Regions from separate parts of the Homo sapiens genome. Here region 2 is linked to region 1. The links are contacts of gene promoters, found by promoter capture Hi-C in blood cells and fetal thymus (Javierre and others, 2016). All regions are on one chromosome and are shown on one strand. Each heading gives the region's core, a stretch centred on a gene start or on the middle of the fragment in contact. The rest is flanking DNA. Distances are from core to core; before and after follow the strand shown. Region 1 holds the start of STAU1 (staufen double-stranded RNA binding protein 1). Region 2 overlaps SPATA2 (spermatogenesis associated 2).

The links. Contacts are between HindIII fragments. The CHiCAGO score rates a contact against its expected background, and 5 or more counts as called.
Region 2: a contact is called between a fragment that was not itself captured here and the fragment with the promoter of STAU1 in region 1, in 2 of 17 cell types (fetal thymus and naive CD8 T cells). The highest score is 8.7, in fetal thymus.

Annotation. Positions count from the first base shown.
Region 1 is chr20:49,186,261-49,189,913 of GRCh38, forward strand. STAU1 (staufen double-stranded RNA binding protein 1) reads right to left here and starts at 2,074. Exons shown (of 14, transcript NM_017453.4): 1 at 1,856-2,074. RefSeq lists an enhancer at 818-887 and silencers at 1,288-1,447, 1,678-2,347. The HindIII fragment of the contact is 4,529 bases long and covers 900-3,653 here.
Region 2 is chr20:49,911,774-49,915,426 of GRCh38, forward strand. It overlaps SPATA2 (spermatogenesis associated 2), which reads right to left. Exons shown (of 3, transcript NM_006038.4): 1 at 3,607-3,653. Among named protein-coding and RNA genes, the nearest start is that of SPATA2, 1.9 kb to the right of the region's middle. RefSeq lists an enhancer at 2,774-2,943 and a silencer at 3,458-3,653. The HindIII fragment of the contact is 2,077 bases long and covers 822-2,898 here.

The DNA.
Region 1 (3,653 bases), core at 824-3,323:
TTTTGAACCAGGGTGGCAGAGGTTGAAATGAGCCGAAATCGCGCCACTGCACTCCAGCCTGGGCGACAGCGTGAGACTGTCTCAAAAAAAAAAAAAAATTCAAACAAACATTTTAAATTACAAACAATGGTAAGACTGTCAGAAAATTCTAGGAAAATGTCAAAAACAAGGAGGCCACTTTGCCGCATGTGTGTTAAGAGATGGGTATAAATCAAAATAGTTTCAGTTCACTAAGGAAATTTAATGCCTAAAACAATCCTAAGATACAGGAGGATCACTCAGGTAAACACACACTCCTTACTCATATAAAATTGAACACCCATAAGTTGCATTTCCTTAGAGTACACCTATAAAACTAAGTACAGAATTTTTAAAAACCCAGTATGTTTTAGTAAAGTTGCTGTTCTAAAAATCCCACCTGTCACCAGGATAACCGAAACTGCTCCCTCTACACTCCAACTGTATTTTTAGTTTTTACCTCAACAAGTAGCAATGCAATTTACACTTGGTAAGCACGGATTCCTGAAACGCCAAAATCAACCGGGAACCTGATTTAACTCCACCACGCTCTTAACAATGAAAGCTACAAGCAGAAGAGAAGTGTGACCTTAAAAACTTCCACACAGCCGAAGAACAGTGGCAGAACAGACTGAAGCACGTATCTTCGCGGAACAGAAGAAAACTTCCACACAAGCAATACTGCAACACGGAGGCGGGGCAAGGGCTTAAAAGGAAAGTCAGCCAACAGGGAGGGGTGAATATAAGCAAAGCTTCCGTGAAAAAAAACTTATCGAGGTGTAGAGCAAGACAAGACAGACAAATTTTTCCATCTCCGTACACCCCCCTTCAGAGCCCAACACACAGCAAGTGCTCTAGATAGGTTTGCTCAACTCAAGGGAAGCTTCTGCCAGCAACTTTCCCAGAAATGGAATGACAAGAAGAAGCTGGATGATGGCGGGGCGGGGAGAAATGGACAGGTTGCTCATCCTGCGGGAGATGGTGAATATCCTGCAGTTGCCTAAGCGGAGATGGAAAGAAACAGCATCCATCGTTTACAGACTGTCAACTACAGTGTCCCAATTAAGCGTACGCCCCTTTCAGATGTTAACAACTGAAAACAATGCCCTGGCTCTGGACATGGGCACGCGGAACACTGCAGCCTCTAAGAAACCCAAACGGATAGGTAGGTCAACTTCTATCCACTCTGCCCATTAAATTATACCTTCATATCACGCTAATAAATTATGCAGACGGTTTACTGGGACACGCTGTGGGTCTGGCACTCTGATAAGCGCTTTACACGCCCCATTTCACTGAACCTTAAGAGGCAGGGACGGTATTAGCAGCCCCTTTTCCAACCAAGACACAAAGACTTTTTAAGTGTCTTGCCTAACGGGGCAGAGCCGGGTTCGGCACCCGTTTTGGACACCTGGGCCGTGCTCTTAACCACTAAGCTACAGACCTGGGCCGGCGACACTGAGAGGCTCCAGCCCTCGGGGACCTGAAGCAGGGACCCCCCCCCCCCCCCGCCTGCGCCCCAGCCCCGGGAATAACTTCGGCATCCCCGCGCGCGCCATGCGGGACGAGGAAAGGCGGCCGCAGCACCTGTTTGTGGCACCGGTGAGGGCTGGAGGGGATGGGGGCGCCCGGGGCCAGGCCTCAGGGCGCCCCGAGGCGAGGGAACGCAAGAGGACCCGCCTCCTCCGGGAAGGCCCCGCGGGCTAGAGAGAGGCCCGGGAGAAGGCGGAGGGGTGCGCGGGCCCGCCGAGGCCTAGGCCCCACCCGCCGCCCACCTCCCCACCGCGGCGGCGCCCGCGAGGGCCCCACCAGGCCCGGCCCGGCCCGGCCGCCTCACCTGGCTGCTGCTCCGAGCTCGTCCCCCGGCCGGCGGTCCTGGGCGGTGGCGGCGAGGAGGGGAAGGAAGAAGGAAAAAAGGGAGAGGAAGAAGGGACGAAGGGAGGGAAGAGGCGGAGTGGCCGTGGAGGAGGCGGGCGCCGCCGGGCCGGGGGGGGGAGGCGGTCAAAGGAAGCGGGAGCCGAGAGAGACGCGGCAGCCGCCGGCGCAAACGCTGAAGAGCCGCTCAGGCGCCCGCAGCCCGGCAGGAAGTGACGGGGGAGGGGCAGGCGCCCGCCCCCGGCCCCCGCCCGCCTCCAGGCCCGGCCCCGGCCCCACCCCCACCCACGGTCCGAACCACAAGTTCCGGCTGGCACTGCGGCGGAGCCTGCGCTCGCAAGGCACGCCGGGGGCCCAGCGGGAGGAGCGCCCTGTCCCGCCTGGACCGCAGCGGCCCGTCCTGAGTCCCGGGGCCTGCCGGGAGTTGTAGTTCTGGTGGGAGTTTCGCGCTGCCTGCTGGACTCGAAGCGGGTCTGGGAGAACCCAGCCTACCTTCTTTCCTCCTCCACTTCCTTTTTCCTTCCTTGCTGTCGCTTCTTCCTCTTGTCCTGCCTCTGGCCTTCCTTTCTCTCCTTCCTGCAGTTGTTTCTTCCTCCATCTGTAAATGTTCATTAAATGCTTGCCATATGCAAGGCATTGCTCCAAGAGCTAAGAATGTAGTGGTGAACTGACAAAAATCCCTGCCCTCGTGGAGCTTACATTCTTGTGTAAGTAAAATACACAATAAATAAAATTGAAAAATGTGTAGTGAGATAAAAGACAATGGCCCGGGCGCGTTGGCTCAGGCCTCTAATCCCGGCACTTTGGGAGGCCGAGGCGGGCGGATCACTAGGTCAAGAGATCGAGACCATCCTGGCTACCACGGTGAAACCCCCGTCTCTACTGAAAATACAAAAAATTAGCCGGGCGTGGTGGCGGGCGCCTGTAGGTAAACAGCTACTCGGGAGGCTGAGGCAGGAGAATCGCTTGAACCCGGGAGGCGGAGATTGCAGTGAGCTGAGATCGCGCCGCTGCACTCCAGCCTTGGCGACAAAGAGACACTGGTCTCAAAAAAAAAAAAAAAAAAAAAAAAAAAAAAAAAAAAAAAGACGAGAAGTGCCAGATTACTATTTATTTCACCCAGACCTAGATAAACTAAGTGGTTTTTAGCAGCTGTATTGTATGGGAGGTTGGAGAGAGGGTGGCCAGTAAAGAATCTTGGCCAGGCGCAGTGGCTCACGCCTGTAATCCCGGCACTTTGGGAGGCCGAGGTGGGCGGATCACCTGAGGTCAGGAGTTCGAGACCAGCCTGACTAACATGGTGAAACCCCGTCTCTACTAGCCGGATGCAGTGGTGGGCGCCTGTAATCACAGCTACTTGGGAGGCTGAGGCAGGAGAATCTCTTGAACCCGGGAGACGGAGGTTGCAGTGAGCCGAGATCACGCCATTGCACTCCAACCTGGGCAACAGAGTGAGACTCTGTCTCAAAAAAAAAAAAAAAAAAAAAAAGAATCTTGAACTTCTGCACACTCAGCGAAAATTATGCTCGCGTTGTGAGAGGTCCAAGAAACTGAGAATGAATGAAGGAACTGCAGGTGCACAGAGCTTCTCTCTCCCGCTCACTCTGGGACTGCCGCCCCACTATTTAAAAATAATTCTCTCTTTCTTAAATGTCTCTCAATCTAATAATTGCTCAATCTCTCTTGCCAACGGAATATAAATTCAAAATACGAGCTGCTGTGTCTGAAGAGGCCCCTCCAAACAAGGCTTTGGAGCCTTA
Region 2 (3,653 bases), core at 610-3,109, 730 kb after region 1:
CCAAGAATCCTGGGAGATCAGCTGGAGAGCAAAGAAACGGGCTCAGAAAGATGGCATGAGGTACGACAAGTAGCTCAAGGTTAGCAGATGATGGACCCGATAATCCAAGCCTGGCCTTCTGACTTGGAACCTGTATTCCTCTCACCACCCCACGATTCCCATGTCCAGCAAGCATTTCTGCAGCCCCCACCCTCTGCCTGAGCTGGACCCAGTCGGGGAATGGGGATGGGTGGGACAGGTAGAGGACAGCAATAAAGGAGACACATCCTGCCTGCAGCTCTAGCTGGAAGAGCATACCACCTAGTATCAAAGTAGGTATGTGCTCTAACTTCATACTGTTCTGTCCATAAAAAAATAAACAATTTAAAATGTATATTCTCTTAAAAAATAAAAATGCAGGCCAGGCGCGGTGGCTCACGCCTGTAATCCTACAACTCTGGGAGGCCAAGGTGGGTGGATCGCCTGAGATTGGGAGTTTGAGACTAGCCTGGCCAACATAGCGAAACCCCGCCTCTACTAAAAATACAAAAATTAGCTGGACGAACACCTGTAATCCCAGCTACTCAGGAGGCTGAGGCAGGAGAATGGCGTGAACCCAGGAGGGAGAGGTTGCAGTGAGCTGAGATCGTGCCATTGCACTCCAGCCTGGGCAACAGAGCAAAAACTCCATCTCTACATAAATAAATGTATTGCACCACTGGAGAGGATAGTCACACATGCATTTACCATTCTTGACTTATCTAAGAGAAGCTGCCATCACGCCTCTGGCCCCAGGGTCTGTTTTTTGGTAGTCTGAGAACCATTCAAACACAGAGACATTAAGCTTCCGAATACTGCTGTAATTTTTCTCCAAGGAAGTCAGCCTTGAACTCAAAGAGACTGATTTTTTACAAAGTCAGCCAGTCTCAAGCTCGGCTCAGCGTCTGCTGCTCTATAATCGCACCACAGTCCACACCCTTGTTTGTTGCTGAAAAACAATAAATAAAGGAAAGGGATCCAAACAGCCCAGCTGATGTTCAAAATACTCACAATAAGGACAGGAAGCCTATCTAAAACAAATCTCAAACCAACCTGGGTAGGTGAGGGAAAAGGCGGAAGAAAGTAAAAGCTAAAAGATAATTAAGGGCAAGACAAGCCTGGACAACATAGTTAGACTCCGTCTCTACAAAAAAAAAAAAAAAAAAAATTAGGTGGGTGTGGTGACACCCACCTGTAGTCTTAGCTACTTGGGAGTCTGAGGTGGGGGGATCCACTGAGCCCAGGAGTTTGAGGCTGCAGTGAGCTATGATGGCACCACTGCACTCCGGCCTGGGTGACAGAGCAAGACCTTGTCTCAATCAGTCAATAAGGAAAGGAAAGAAAGAGACTAACAATTACTGAGGTTCTACTATGTGCTAAGCATTGGGCTTCCCACTTTACCTACATCATCCCATTTAATCCTCACAACTCTATAAGGAAAACAGGCTCTTCCCATTAAAACAACCTGCCCAACAGAGTTTGAAAGGGTCAGAGCTGGAATCTGAACTCTTGCTGGGAGGCCCTTGATGCCTGGGCTTTCTCCAATTTACCTCACTCATTTATTGTTACATCAGTACCATTTACCAAGGGATTACTGTGTGGCATCCCTCTGCTAACTGCTCTGTGAAAACCAATGAAATCCACAGGATAGATCCAAGGTTAAAGAGGAAACTGAGGCTCGGAGAGGCCAACTCACTTACCCTAAGTCGTAAGGCTAGGAAGAAGTGGATCTGAGCTCTGAACCTAGGTCTAACGCCAAAACTCCGACTCTTGCAAAGCCATCCTGCTGCATCTGCTGGACAGCTCTACTCGAAAGTGTTTGGCTAAGTTAGAATGCCTTATGGCGGCGCGAGCAGAGTTGAGTTACAAAAATTCCTGTAGTAGCAAAATTCCCATCTTCCCACACCGAATGGGGCTAGGAGAGCTAATCTCTATATGATGTAAGCTCAAGGGCCAAGGAAAGAGGCTGGTCAGAGACATCGGCCAGTGATGAAGCAGCTGACATCATCCCTGCTGAAAACATTTTCTGAGAATACAAGATGCCTTGTAGCTGGTCATAGCTGGTGTTTTTTCTGAGCACAGAGCCAGCAATTCATTCCCAGCACTCTGCAAGAACAACAAAATACGCTCTCTGCAAAAACATCGTGGTTACAGGAGACCGAGACAGCCCAGCGACAGAAGCTGCTAATTTCTCCAAGCAACCCAAGGATTGGAACGCCAAGCCGTGCCAGTCTGGTGGAAAAAAAAAAAAAAAAAAACCCAAAAAACAAAAAAACAGCACTGTGAATATCCTGAACACAGAGACAGGCAGGTGCCCAGAGTCAACGGCTCCAGTCAGCACCTCCTGCACCCACAATCTAGGTACCTTCTTGAAAAGCAAGTCAATGGAAAAAGAGATATTGCACAGTCAGGGAGCCAGTGGCTTCTTTAGTTATTTTTTGAACATCTAAGAGGAAAGCTGTATCTGTTTAGAGTCCCACTGCATGGAAGTGAAGTGATTCCGAGTAGCTAAGCATTAGCTTGGCTTTACCTCAGCTGGCCCATTCAAGCAGAAATGTTCCCCAAGCAGCATTTGAAGGCGCCCCCTCTCTGCACAGGCAGACCTATTTTGGTCTGTGCACTGCCCCTGTCCACAGGTTTACACATCCCTGGTCTAGCTCCATCAGCCTCCAAACAGGAGACGGGGAAGTCAGTTCAACCCCCTCCACCTCCCCACCCACACCAATGCACTCGTTCCAAGCAAGAGGCTCCGAGAAACATCCAAGGCACCTTCCACTGGCTGTGAAACACCAGAAGGTCCCCACACTCCTACTAGATTCCAAAGAAATTCACACAGAGTCCTTCCAAACCTCTGAAAATAACCTCAGCGGTGCTGAAAGAAGCTTCCCTAGTGGCAGCTGCCTCTCTCGGAGAAGCTCTGAAGGAAGCTGTTTCCCTCCCTGCAGGGGACAGAAGCTGGCGGCTGCTAAGTCCCAGCTCGGTCATTCCTACAGCCTCGGGGGGCCACGTCAGTTGTGAAAAACAGCCCAGTCTCAAATTCTGGCCCCCCCTACGGCTTCGTGAATTGAATGAAGTAACAGGAACTATCACTTATTGGACGCCTGCTGTATGCCAGAGGCCCTGCATGATCTCATTCCATCTCCACTCCAGCCCTAGCAACCAGGTTCAATCACTTAAATAGGCAACTGAGGCTCTTAAGATGAAGTGACTTATCCAAGGTCACACAGTGAGTACAAACCCAGGTGTGCCGCCAGAGCCTGAACTGGGAACCCCTGCGCGGTAACTGCCTCGTGGCGAAATCGGGGTGTCCTTCTGTTTGGCCAGTCGCCGAAGAGGGGTGTTCCTCTTGGGCGGCCCTGAGCCACCCTCGGCGGGTCCCAGGAGCCTGCGAGGCAGCTCCCGGGAGAATGGGGGTCCTGAGGATAGGCTGGGGGTCCCGGGAGCGCCGAAACAGCGGGCCCACCTGTAGTCCTGCCTGCCGTGAGGGTACCCCGCTCCCGGGCCAGCCGAGCCCTGCCGCTGTCTGGCGCCCCCTCCGCCTGGGGAAGCCCCGAAGGCAGTTTCCGCCCGCGGCCGCCCGTCACTCACCCTGACACTGCCGCCGAGGACGGCCCGGCCGAGGGAAGCAAGCGAGA